Regions from separate parts of the Homo sapiens genome. Here all the other regions are linked to region 2. The links are contacts of gene promoters, found by promoter capture Hi-C in blood cells and fetal thymus (Javierre and others, 2016). All regions are on one chromosome and are shown on one strand. Each heading gives the region's core, a stretch centred on a gene start or on the middle of the fragment in contact. The rest is flanking DNA. Distances are from core to core; before and after follow the strand shown.

The links. Contacts are between HindIII fragments. The CHiCAGO score rates a contact against its expected background, and 5 or more counts as called.
Region 1: a fragment that was not itself captured here is called in contact with the fragment with the promoter of NIPA2 in region 2 in 2 of 17 cell types (fetal thymus and non-activated CD4 T cells); the score reaches 10.4 in fetal thymus.
Region 3: a fragment that was not itself captured here is called in contact with the fragment with the promoter of NIPA2 in region 2 in 4 of 17 cell types (total CD4 T cells, fetal thymus, total B cells and 1 more); the score reaches 10.0 in total CD4 T cells.

The regions. Positions count from the first base shown.
Region 1 is chr15:24,955,657-24,960,253 of GRCh38, reverse strand. All of the region lies in intron 1 of SNRPN (small nuclear ribonucleoprotein polypeptide N), which reads right to left. The region is part of intron 1 of SNURF (SNRPN upstream open reading frame); the gene reads right to left. All of the region lies in intron 4 of SNHG14 (small nucleolar RNA host gene 14), which reads right to left. Among named protein-coding and RNA genes, the nearest start is that of SNURF, 3.0 kb to the right of the region's middle. RefSeq lists enhancers at 3,417-3,466, 3,155-3,720, 3,737-3,896, 3,721-4,286, 4,287-4,597. The HindIII fragment of the contact is 1,262 bases long and covers 2,250-3,511 here.
Region 2 is chr15:22,837,182-22,841,703 of GRCh38, reverse strand. NIPA2 (NIPA magnesium transporter 2) reads right to left here and starts at 3,038. Exons shown (of 8, transcript NM_030922.7): 1 at 2,783-3,038; 2 at 1,914-2,049. RefSeq lists an enhancer at 2,912-3,141. The HindIII fragment of the contact is 4,457 bases long and covers 770-4,522 here.
Region 3 is chr15:25,443,351-25,448,192 of GRCh38, reverse strand. No RefSeq gene overlaps it. Among named protein-coding and RNA genes, the nearest start is that of UBE3A, 6.7 kb to the right of the region's middle. The HindIII fragment of the contact is 172 bases long and covers 2,520-2,691 here.

The DNA.
Region 1 (4,597 bases), core at 1,631-4,130, 2.1 Mb before region 2:
TGCCAACTTCCTAAAAATGTTAATCATGAAAGTAACATATGACACTAACTCTACTGCTAGATGAAGTAATATTACAAGACCCAAACTCAGCCTCCAAAGTAGCTGGGATTACAGGCATGCACCACCACACCCAGCTAATTTTTGTATTTATAGTAGAGACAGGGTTTCACCATGTTGGCCAGGCTGATGTCGAGCTCCTGCCCTCAGGTGATCTACCCACCTCGGCCTCCCAAAGTGCTGGGATTACAGGCATGAGCCACCATGCCCAGACAGTTCATGTTCTTTCTATTATACCTGCAGCCTTCCCAGCTACCACTACTCTCATACTTCCAAAAAGACAAAATTTCAAGAACCTGGCATATACGAGGGCTAAGTAAAACCTTGTGAAACTAATTCTTTGTATTAAACGTATTATACGTGTTCCTAGTAGCATTATTCATAATAGCCAAAGAGTGGAAACAACTCAAATGTCCATCAACTTACGAATGAAGAAAATATGATATATCCAAACGAATGTCTTTCAGCCATAAAAAGGAATTTAGTACTGATCAGTGCTACATTATGGTGGGCACACAAATACAGCTAATAATGTAGTACCTTAATATAATACAATTAAAGAAACTATCAACTAAACCATGATTAATCTAATAGTGTACAACTGCAAACACTGTCTTACCAAAAAACAAAAAGAACCCATTCGGCAGTTGCTCAATATGAAAGGTCTGAGGTCAACTGAGGAAATAGCCATCAAACCAAAATATTCTATTATTTCAACTTTCTGAATTTACCTTTTTTTAAATGTAGAGACGGGGTCTCAATACCCAAGCTTGAACTCCCAGGCTCCAGTGATCCTTCTGCCTTGGCCTCCAAAAGTGCTGGGACTATAGACATGAGCCACCGCACCTGGCTTAAATCTACTTATTTTTAATCTACATATAAAATGTCATCTATAAGATTTTGAAAACACTACTTTATTGAATGTTCTAGATACACACACACATGCATTTATCTAACTGCATCCCCAACACAGAAACCAACATTTTATGAAACTGAGGACATCATGAAAAAATCATCATATAGAAAGGGTGTTAAATGTTTGCCCTCAGATCACTTACACTGAAAGTAATAATCCGGAAATATATTGAAAAGCAAAAAGCAATGGAATCCCAATTTTATTACGGCCTAAATTTTCCATAAAATTTAACTAAGATCTCAAGAATAAAAATAAACAAAGTTGGCCAGGTATAGCGGCTCATGGCTGCAATGCCAGCACTTTGGGAGGCCTAGGCAGGGGCACTGCTTGAGTCCAGGAGTTCGAGACCAGTCTGGGCAACATAAGGAGACCCCTCTCTACAAAAAAATAAAAAGTTAGCTGGGCACAGTACCTCAAGCCTGTACTAACAGGCACTTGGGAGGCTGAGGCAGGAGTCTAGATTGATCCAGGAGTTTGAGGTTACAGGGAGCTATAACTGCATCACTGCACTCCAACCTGGGCAACATAGCCAGACCCTGTCTCCTAAAAACAAAAAAATAAGGTTAATGATAGGCTGCTAATCTGTACCCCATGAATATAAGAAACCTCATTGCCTCCAAAACAAATCTGAGGAGAATTAACAAAAAGAGAATTTGGGCCAGCCACAGTGGCCAGAGAGAGACTGAGGAGGGAGAGGATATAGCTTGAGTCTAGCAGTTCGAGTTCAGCCTGGACAACATAGGGAGACCCTGGTCTATTTAAAAAAAAAAAAAAAAAAAAAAAAAAAAAAAAAACTTTGAGCCAGCTAGCATCCAGAAATGGAGAGAGGCTACCTTAAGTAGTAACAATTCTCACTCAAGCTTTCTGGCCCTGGGCCACAAAAAAAAAAAAAAAGGAGACAGGACCAGTGACAGGTCTAAATAAGATTTTTAAAACTTCATTGTCCAAGTAATTGAGGGCAGTACTCACAACCTGCTTAAATGATTCTTCCTAAAAAATAGCTAAACAGAGGGCGCTGATAAACAAAGGAGGTTATCTTGGCATCCTTGACACCTTATAAACAAAATTTTTTGTAAAACAAAGATGTTTATTAGGAAAAGGAACAGGGTAAGGGAAACATAAAGATACAGAGTAACTATAAATGTGGAAAACATTTCGGCAATGACACACTGGTCAGATAGAATAGTGAAATCAAGATAAGGCAAGGTCTGTGAATAAATCCAAATCAGTTAGTACCCTGCCTTAGACAACAACATAAGGGTCTCTCAACCAAGCTTCCTTCCTCTGCATCACAGGAAGGGCTGCCACTCCCTGCCTCCAAAAAGCCCTAGCACAGAGCCAATTCACTGAGTAGGACACAGACCTTGAAACTTCAAGAGGCCTTTCCAAAGGGATCTGCCATATTAGGATCCCGGGCCTGAATGCAAGACTACAAAATGGCGGATCAGACTAAATACTCAGCTTGCAAATAGCCAAATGACCAGAAGTTAAACCAAGAAATATATGTATGTGAACTGCTATCTTCATGCAAGCAGAAAAAAAAGGGTAAATTATAAATATCATATAAAATCCCAGACTCCTGCTATTTTTAAAACTACCCAAAAATAGATTATTCCAGAACAAGGCTTTTCGGGCTTCGTAGATTTAACTTTTCTGTTAATTACAACTCAGTGCAACCAGACATACCAGTTATGATAGAGGGAAAATGTAAATACAGAAAAGGCAAGCACTGAAAATCCTGCAAAGGAAGACAAAATCCTTAGAATAAAATGATTTTTTAAAAAAGTACTGGAATATAAAAATGCAGTTATTCATTAACCTTTCTCACCAAATTTTTGTAGTAGCTCCAACTTCAAAAATGATCATTAATTTAAAAATCCAAAAAAAGACAGTAACTGATCCAAAGCACAACCCCACCCCAATAAGATTGTCTCCACTTTTCTCTTTTATTCTCTTTGAGCACAAAACTTGCAGCTTTCAACTCCCAGAAGATGAAGAGGTCCAGTGTTTGAAACACCTTTCAACCTTAGTCGGGAAGAGCCATCACGATGTCCTCTCCCCCAACCCATTTAAGGAAAGTATGCAGTGCATCAGAATGGACTATCCAGAGATTAAGAAGGATAACTGAATCTTAAATGGTGACATTTATTAAATGTGTCGAATGGAAATCAAAGACTACAGGGAGTTAAAAAAAAGGGGTTAACAAGTCCAGTTTGAAAATAGAGAATTAGCGCACAATACAACCAAGAGAGGAACTACAAAAATGAAAAGGTACGATTTTCCAGGGAGTCAGAAAACCAATTTAAAATCTCTATCATTAATGGAGGCTTGCTGAAACAGCACAGCAGGTCTTGGGGTGGCTGCACCTTTGATGGCCTCCAGGCCGCCACCACTCTAGTTTACTGCAGAGCTGAAAAGCAGTAGCCCAGTGCAGCTGCCATCCCACACAGGCGGAGGTGGTACAAATGCCTGGCCTCTAGCCACATTCCCCTCCAGTCCTCTACTGCTGCACCGTGGGTAAGGGGTGGCTGCCAAGCTTGCTAGGCGGAGCCTGCGCCAACCCATCTCCCTCCTCCCCCCTCTACTGCGCCACAACCGGAAAGGAACAGCTGCTGTATCAGCCAGGTGAAGGGGAGGGCTGCCATTCCTTCCAGGCAAAAGCTGCGTAAGCCCTCGCTCCCCTGCCCCACGTCTCGCCCCACTGCAAGCGGAGGCGACTGTCACCTCTGCTGCGTCTGCGCAACCTGCATCCTTTCCCAAGCAGCACTTTGGGGAGGGGGCAGCCGCCCACCTTGGCCGGCTTCCTCTCCTTACCACTGCACCCTAAAGAGGGTACGGCTGAAACTCCGAAACAGCAGAAGCTGAACACACACCACCTGCCCCCTCCCCACTGGCGGCTCTACAGGGAGGAAGCGGCCACCCCCCCGCTGAAGCGCTTGCGCAGATCTAAGCCGCTGCAGCGGCGGCCATCTTGAAGGAGCTGCACAATGGCAGTGACGCAACACAGACCCCCAGGTTATTTCGACATAGCCTTCCAAGACCTGGTTCCCAACAGAGAGAAACAATGAAAAAAAAGTAACCCCCAGGCATCACCTGGCCTATCAGTCAAAAGATCTGTAAATGCAAGTTCTGCACATCATTCCAGTCTTCTTATGCCATAGCCTCTAAAGCGAGGGTTCCTAAAGGGTACGCAAGGATTCCACGCATTTCTGCAGCCCCTGCGGCAGTGTAGGCATTGCGCAGTTTTAATAAAAAAGCACCACCACCACAGTAGGCAAACCAGATGACCATCGCAGGTCACAGGAAAATTAAAGGCTGCGGACTGTGCTACTGCCCCTTCTGATGCCCCCTCCTCTACACAGCAATCATTCAGCGTCCCTTAGTCACTCCGGACAGCGACAGGCCCCGCGGCCGCCATGCCCACCGCCTCCATGCCATGCCCACCGCCGCCATGCCTACCGCCGCCAAAGTCCACCACCGCCATGCCTACCCGCTGCCAATGCCCACCGCCGCCAATACCCACTGTCGCCGCCTTCCCCCTACCTCCCAGCCACTTCCTACGGACTCTCCCCGCGCCGCGACCACCAACACAACCCCCACCACTGTCACACCGACTCATCCCCC
Region 2 (4,522 bases), core at 1,789-4,288:
AACCCCGACTCTACTAAAAATACAAAAATCAGCCAGGCATGGTGGCGGGCGCCTGTAATCCCAGCTACTCGGGAGGCTGAGGCAGGAGAATCGCTAGAAACTGGAGGGCGGAGGTTGCAGTGAGCCGAGATCGCACAGCTGCACTCTAGCCTGGGCAACAAGAGCAAAACTGCATCTCAGAAGAAAAAAAAAGGTGAGTGTCAGATCACGTGGGGCCCTATGGGCCATACACAAACCCAAAAGGCAAGGAACAGATCTGCAACCCATTTATTTGGCCAGATCATAATTTATTTTCATCTGGAGCCATTACAGAACTATTTAAGTAGTTCTGTTTCAACTTCATTTACATAAAACAAATAGATATGCAGAAATGTTTAAGGATGCTCTAATCTAGTCTGAGGGGTGTATTTAATTCTACAACACAGATAAATCTTTGCAAATTGTGTATATTTGAGATTTATGTTATGGGAAACATACAGATACTAACACAGTTACCACAGTAGAGCAAATCAACATATCTATCATCTCATGTAGTTACTTTTTTATGACAAAAGCAGCTAAAATCTACTCATTGAAGGAAAATCTCTAATACAATTTCATTAGCTGTAGTTCTCAAGTTGTACATCCTGAATATCTGCTACTTTGTATCCTGTGACCTAAATCTCCCATTTCCTCTCCCACCCCCACCCCACCTTTTATTCTCTGCAGAAGTCTTATCTTTCTGTTCAATATCACAATGTATAGCAATCAAATAAATCAGTTTAAATGAAGCTTACACCATCTATAAAAAAATGTAATATTCAAAGTCATGTGTTTTAAATATGAGTAAACCATATTTACCTATTAAAAACATTCTGAAAATATGTGAAATTCTTTTTATTATCTCTCCCTAACAATAGCTACCACTTACTGAACACCTCCCCAGGCACTATTCCATGCATCATTTCTACTCATTTCTCTTCTACGCAATAAGATGAAGGTATCACTTTACAGCTAAGGAAACCTCCCAGGGGTAAAAAAGAGTCACATGCAGAGGACCACACAGAAAGGGACTTTACTTCTACACCCGGCTGCCCACATTACATTAACACTTTAGAGCTCTTAGGTCGGGCGCGGTGGCTCACGCCTGTAATCCCAGCACTTTGGGGGGTCGAGGCGGGCGGATCACCTGAGGTCAGGAGTTAAGAGACCAGCCTGGCCAACAAGGTGAAACCCCCGTCTCTACTAAAAATACAAAAATTAGCTGGGCGTGGTCGCCGGCGCCTGTAACCCCAGCTACTCCGGAGGCTGAGGCAGGAGAACCGCTTGAACCCAGGAGGCGGAGGTTGCAGTGAGCAGAGATCGTGCCACTGCACTCCAGCCCGAGTGACAGAGCAAGATTCCATCTCAAAAAAAAAAAAACAAAAAAAAAAACTATATATAGAGCTCTTAGTTTTCTACGAAATCTTTACTACCTGGTTTCCACTGCTATCTAAGTTAGCTTAGGCCCGGCTCGGTGGCTCACACCTGTAATCCCCGCACTTTGGAGGCCAAGGTGGTTGGATCGCTTAAGTCCAGAATTAGGAGACCAGCCGGTGTAACATGGTGAAACCCCGGTTCTAAAAAAAATACAAAAATTAGCCAGGCATGGTGCCGCACGTCTGTGGTCCCAGCTGCTGGGGAGGCTGAGGTGGGAGGAGCACTTGAGCCCGGGAGGCGGAAGTTGCAGTGAGCCCAGATTGCACCGTCTAGCCTGGGGACAGAGCAAGACCTTGGCTCAGAAAAATTAAATACATGTTAGATTTAATTTTTTCCAACCTCTCACTTGGCTAATAATTTTTCAAAGCAGTACTGTACTTATAAATATTACAGAACCTAAATCTCCAACCCTAACTATGCAACAATATTAGTTATAAATTACAATTTTAACTTACATGTAAGTTTAATATGGTCTCTCTTATGAAAAAAAGGCTGGGAGAGGTTAGAGATGACTTATTCACTCTCATTTCCTCGTAAATACCACCCTTTATTCTCATTTAAAGTCTTAAACCCTGGCCGAGTAGCTCCAGCCTAGAAAGAAGAAAACACAGAAGTAGGCAAAAGACTTAAAGTTACTAAGTACGTTTTATAATTTGGTTACTAGCCTTCATACTCATTTTGCCAACCAATCAACATAAAACCTACTCAATCGAGCACAACTACTGCTTCGACAGGCAGCTTACTGGAATGGAAACTCTCGACTCTGATATTTCCTCTTACTAAAAAAAGTATTAACCGGGCACATGGCTATACACAGGATTTCTAGAAACAGAACTTAACATGCAGTCCTGTATTAAATGAACTAACAACCTAGAAAAGAAATTAAGGAGGCACAAACACCAAACTAAACACACAGTTTTGAGCAATTGTATAGAGAGGGAAATAGGATTCCGTGATTTTATAAAAGGAAATTAAAACAGTCAGGCTCAAAACGTCACAGCAGACTTCTAAGGCTTGTTTAACTGTCAGTTATGATCCCCGCAGCAGCTGAAGCCACCTTCTAAAACTCACCAAGACAAATGAAATTATTTTAATGAACTTAATGAACATGCGTCCCCGACATGGCCAACGAGCCAGGCTTCCGTGGGACTGAACGGCAATCCGATTCACGGTGGGTTTCCTCACTGAGGATTACAGGAAAACCGCTTCAGAACACCCGGAAAGGAAAGTTGCCCGAAGAACCCTTCTCCGACACAAGGCGGGCTGGCTCGCCACCAAGTCAGCCCCTTCGCGCTTGCCTGAAAGGAAGGAGTGGCGACCTCACCCTAGTCGGCCGGCCGGCCGCGCGGCTTCCCCTCGCCGGCGCAGCCTTGGGCACCGCGGCTCACACCCCCACACAGGCCGCCCAGTCCTGCGCTCGCACGGCCACCGCCTTCGTCGCCGTCCAGTGGGAGATGCGAGCATTCGGGGCTGAAGCCGTTCGCACCGCCTCCTCCATGGAGAAGCGCCGAGGAAAACCTGCCAAGGACAACCTCCGGCACCGCCGTCACCACCGCTGCCGGGACCTAGGGCCGGCGCCGGAAAACCTAGGCGCGGCTAAATGACGCAAGAGGCCTCGCGCGCACGCGCAGTGCCGCACCACGTACACCCCGCCCCCGGGGCTCTCTCCCGCCGGGTTCCGGTTCCTTTACAAGGCCCCAGTCGGCTGAGCGCGGAGGGCGGGGCGCGTAGAGTGTGGGGACGGGGGCGGGGCGCAGGATCCAGGCGGGACCTGGCGAGGGACGAAGCTGGAAGCGTAGTTAAGCAGTACAGTATGCTGCCAGGTGGCGTTGGCCGATCAGTTCAAAATCAAACTCCGGCGTGGCCCTTATTTAAAACGAGGATTCCGGGCCCGGCGCTGTGGCTCACGCCTGTAATCCCAGCACTTTGGGAGACCAAGGCGGGCGGATCCCGAGGTCAGCAGATCGAGACCATCCTGGCTAACACGGTGAAACCCCGCCCCTACTAAAAATACAAAAAATTAGCCGGGCGTGGTGGCGGGTGCTTGTAGTCCCAGCTACTCGGGACACTGAGGCAGGAGAAGGGCGCGAACCCGGGAGGCGGAGCTTGCAGTGATCGGAGATCCCGCCACTGCACTCCAGCCTGGGCGACAGAGCGAGACTCCGTCTCAAAAAAAAATAGAATAAATGAGGGTTCCGGCCGGGCGCGGTGGCTCACACCTGTAATCACAGCACTTTGGGAGGCCGAGGCGGGCAGATCACGAGGTCAGGAGTTCGAGACCAACGTGACCAACATGGGGAAACCGCATCTCTACTAAAAATACAAAAATTAGCTGGACGTGTTGGTGCGCGCCAGTAATCTCAGCTACTCCAGAGGCTGAGGCAGGGGAATCGCTTGAACTCGGGAGGCGGAGGTTGCAGTGAGCCGAGATCAGCCACTGCACTCCACCTGGGCGACAGAGCGAGACTCCTTCTCAAAAATAAATAAATAAATAAAATAAAATGAGGGTTCCCAGGGGCAGTCACAGTGTGAAGCTGCATTTAATTGGTGTCCCCGGGCGATGCCAAAGGGGAACAGAGCTCCCAAGAGGGCAAGAAGCGGGGGAAAGGGTGGGTCCAAAGCTGGGGGCGGGACGGGGCGGGGCCGAAATAGCTGTGGTAGTTCGACGACCGCTGGGCCCTTCCTTACTGACCCGGTCGCGGAATAGATGTGAGGTTGACGTTTGGTGAAAGCCCGCCTCGAGACACTGAGAGCAGATTGATTGAATGATTGATTTTGAGACAGAGTCTCGCTCTGTCGCCAGACTGGAGTGCAGTGGCACGATCTCGGCTCACTGCAAACTCCGCCTCCCCGGTTCAAGCGATTCTCCTGCCTCAGCCTCCCGAATAGCTGGGACTGTAGGCGCGCGCCGCCACGCCCGGCTAATTTTTTTTTTTTTTTAAGACGGAGTCTTTCTTGTCACCCAGGCTGGAGCGCAGTGACACGATCTCGGCTCACTGCAACCTCTGCCTCCTGGGTTCAATGAAGCCATTCTCCTGCCTCAGCCTCCCCAGTAGCTGGGATT
Region 3 (4,842 bases), core at 1,356-3,855, 2.6 Mb before region 2:
TGCATACCAGTCCTTTCCAGCATTCCAGTCCCTCTGATGGGTACTTTTCAATTTAAATCAATAAACTGGCATTCCGATTTTATAATTCCATCTCTTGAGTTTGTTAAATGTGAGTTTGATTGGTGGGCTGGCTTAAATCAGTTTCTAAGCCTGCAATCATGAGGGCCAGACCTGAACTCTAGTCAACTCACCAAGTTTGGCTCGTTTGTTCATTTGTGTGGCAAATGCGATTGGTGCCCTGGATCTTCCTACTGTATTGTATGCCAGTCCTAGTTTCAATTGCCAGCTCCTGCATTTCTTGCTTAGGGCTCTCTCTGACCAGCTGGAGCTGCTGTGTCCCAACCACAGCAAGCCAGCCAGATGAGGATAACAACATTATACACTCACAGGATAATTGTGAAGTGTGTGTTCTACACTGGCTCCCAGAGTTCTTCAACATAAGCAAATTCCAGTTGCCCAAAGTGGACACTTGATTGATAATACACCCTTTTTGGTTTCCTCCCTTCCGTAACTCACTTACTTTCTTACCAGTGTTTCTAGGGATCACCTCCCAAATAAATTACTTGCACTGAAATCATTGTCTCAAGGTCTGTTTTCGTGAGAAACACAAACTAAGACAACTTCGTCCATTCATTCATCATTTATTGAGCTTAATCAATTATTAATAAGTCCTTAAGGCACAAAATAAGTCCTTAGCAACATGTTATCTCTTTTCTCATCACAGTATTATCCCCTTTACAAATGAAGAAATCAAGGTTGAAATAAATTAAGTAGCTGACTCAGTATCACATAATCAGGACAGAGTGCTGGAAAGGACTGATGGCAGATGAAGATGGCTGAGACTCCCAGATGCCCAGTCTTGAATGGAGAGTATAAAAAATGAGTTTTCTGCTGGGGTAATAATTTGAGTATATTATAAGATTGCTACGAAGCAATGAAAAAAGGGATTATTGAATGAGGAAACATTTCAATGAAATATATTTTTGAAATTTTTGTTTTCTAGGAAAGCAACATGCTACAATAAGAGCGCACACACATACACCTGTGGGTTTAAATCCTAGCACTACTAGTTTTTAGCTGTAAGACATGGGCAAGTTGCTTACTTACTCTAAGCTCAATTTTCTAATCCATAAAGTATATAATATCCAAGAATGTTGTATGAATTAATGAGATTTATTTAAACAACTGGCACCTAATGAGTGTACAAATTTAATTTGCAGAAATGTACTGTCCTTTCAGGAACTTTGTGGTAAGTACTGAAATATGGATGCAATCAGTACTATGCTTAGCAGTAACTTAAAAAAAGAAGCAATATAAAATTTGTATGTCATAAATGATAACTATATTACTATCTTTAAAAATCTTGGTCTTTCCATATGTAGTATGCTAATTTAATGTTACAAAATAAAAGTAAAATCAATAATTTTAAAAAGTCAGACTTTAAGTATAAAATTTTGTTTGAAGCAATGCCAAAGAATCCACATAGTAACATTTATCATTTTGATAACAGAATTTTGTGTTCTGTATGTGGGCCTCAAGCAGTACTAAAACAAAATAGTGTATCAATTATAAATGATACTCATGATTCTTCCCTAGTCAGATGTTTTTTTCAGTTGAGAGATTCTGAAGAAAAACAATAAGTGTAGAATGTCTGTACCATCTTTAATACTAAGATTTAATTGAATCAATGCATTTCCTTAGATTTAAAAATCATTTTGTTAGAGTCTGTGTTAGAATCAGTATGATACGTATTTAAAATGGAATTAGAGATATGGACTGTAGTAGGAATGACTTCAAATAACTCAAATGATGCGCATGTCAGAAAGAAACAATTTCTAAGGGCTGCTTCATTGATTCAAGTGGAACTGTTTTATTCAGAACAGCTCAGATTAGCAGCAGCAGCAGCTGGTGTTCAATGAAATGCTTCCCTTTTCCACCTACTCTCCAGCTGGGTTAAGACAGGCACAAAGAGATTGGGATGACCAAGGTCAAAGCATGATTTGATAGACTTCCAGGTTTTTGCTCCAGTAACTTCTTGTGTAGTCTTGGCTATAGAGGCAATTCGTGAAATTGGTGGTTGAAAAAGTCATAGCTTTAGAAGGACTTCATAGATCATCTTGTTCAATATCTTAATTTTATACTTCATATACCACGGTTCTAATTAAAATACTTTATTGTTGCATATTTATTGGAATTGACAAGAAGTTAAGATTTCTTACATTTATTTCATTTGCCTGATTTTTCTGTTCCCACTGAATTGTATAAGCAGGCACTACTGCACTTTGTATCTCTACTTGACATAGCTGAAAAATGAAACATTCAAAGATACACTACTTTATTACATGTTAGCTCAGTAAAGGGGCCCTCTATTAGACATGCTGGTCTCAGTTCTTAACTTTTACACTCACAAAGCCCGATTCACTCATTCAAACCTTTTTTGAGGAGTTACCAGGTTTTAGCCATTGAGATAGATACTGGGAACACAAGAAGTCAAGGGTGCTCTCCTCTCTCAAGAAGCTTAAGAGAAGACAGAAGTGCTAAGCACATACATCGAGTATGCGGAGGGCACACAGAGGTATAAGCAATGACCCTCCTTGAGTAGATCTGAAAGGCTTCTCAGAGGAGGAGCTTGAACTTGTCTAAAAGGTAGAATAAACTGCATGCAAAAGAGCTCCAAATGACTCTCAAGCTTAAGTATTGCCTAAGCAATACATTCATGTGGGAAGTGGGAGATGGGGCTGGAATGGAGGCAGAGGCCACATCCAATGGGCCGTTTTTGGAGTTTAGACATTATTCAGAAGGCCATGGTGAGCCACTGATAGAGTTAAGAAAGGCAGCAAGGTGATAACACATGTTTCTTAAGAAAACATACTGTGATGAGGACATTTGGCAGGAAAGTAGTATAATATGAACCAGCATTCTCTGAATGTTGGGGTTAAAATAGTGAATGAGGTAATATGATCTTACCCTTCTGGAACTTACAGTCTAGTTCAGAAACACAACGGGTCTAAACACTAAGGGTCTAAATTAAGGTAGTAGCAGTGGAAATATACAGAAGGAAATGGATGTTATGATAATGATGATGATGATATTGCTTATTACCATTTATTGAACACCTCCCATGTGTCAGGCACTAAACACCTCATATGCACTATCTTTGTCCATTCTCCACACAGTAGCTAGAGTTATTCTATGGATCTTGTCATAACTCTCTCAAACCCTTCCAGAGGCTTCCCACCTCATTCAGCACAAATACCTAAGTTCTTAGGAAAAGCTAAAAAGTCCTCCAGGCTGTGACCCACTGTGACTTCTCTGAGCTCATCTTCAACTCCTCCTTTCTCTCTCTAGCCACAACGCCTTGCTACTGTTCCTAGATGACTCTAGGCACCTTTCTGCTTCAGGGCCCCCTCTGTCTAGAAGGTTGTTTCCTTTGTATTTCCACAGTTCATTCCTCACTTCTGTCAAGCCTCTGATTAAACGAATTCTTTTCAATAAGATCTTCCCTGGCCACTCGGCATGACGGAACTCCTGTAGCACTCCCTATTCCCTTTGCCTTGCTTTGTATTTCTCCTTAACATATCATATTCTGACATAACACATATGTGTTGGTTTTCTTCCTCCATGGATCACAAACTCCATGAAGGTAGACTGTTTTTGTTCATTGCTGTATTCTCAGCACTGATAACAGTGCTCGCACATATCCATTCAATAAATATGTACTGAATAGATGAATGAAGGATTACAATGGTCCTATGAGGATGGTACTATTATTTTTTCCCACTTTCCTAAAGAGGAAACAGACACCAATTGAGGTACTCAAGGTTGTATTTCTGGTAACTGGCAGAACTGGGATTTGCGTGGGGCGGGGGGAAGCCTGCCTTTGTTGAGTTGTACTATGTGCCCAGCATTATTCTAAGAACTTTATGTACATTAACACTTAATCCCTACACCTCCATTTTATAGATGAGGAAACTAAATCAGAAAGGGGTTTACAATCTTGCCTGGTATCTGTGCACTTGCCAGTAAGTTGGGGGCCTGTGCTCTCAGCTACTTTGCTACACTAATTCTAAAGCCAATTCTTTAGAGAGATACAACTTTGCCTCTTAATTGCCAGGAGAGTGAGGGAAAGGAAGAAATCCAGGATTGCTACCATTATTATGACTGTGGACCGCCATAGATGGTAGAGTCACCAATCAAGTCAAAGAATGTAAGATGAGTTGGTTTCATTCTCCTCTAACTCTAGACTTCCACATCCAACTGCCTCCTGATATCTTTGCTTGGATATTAAGACACAAGGTCAGCTGCAGTTAAAGGGATTTAGAATAACCATGGCAGATCATAGAAGTTAGTAGCTGTCTTACATCAGAGTTGACCTGGTACACAGGACCTGCCCAATGAAGTCCTCAGGGCCCCAACTTGTTGCTCTGCAATCCCTAGAATGTTTCCCAGTGTCTTAGTCTTGTTTATGCTGCTGTAACAAAATACCTGAAACTGGGAAATTTGTGAAGAACAGAAATATACTTTTTCACAGTTCTAAAGGCTGGGAAGTACAAGCTCAAGACCCCCAGCAGGTTTAGTGTCTGGTGAGGGCTGCAGTTTCCAAGGTGGGACCTTACTGCTATATCCTCTGGAGGGGGTGAATGCTGTGTCCTCGTGTGGCTAAAGGGATGGAAGGGCAAAAGAAGGCCTAAGCTAGTTCCCTCCAGTCCTTTTACAAGGTATTAATCCATCCATGAGGCAGGGCCCTCATGATTTCATCAGCTGTTAGTATCATCACAATGGGGATTAAGTTTCAACATGAATTTTGAAGGGGACACCATCATTGAAACCACAGCATCTTTC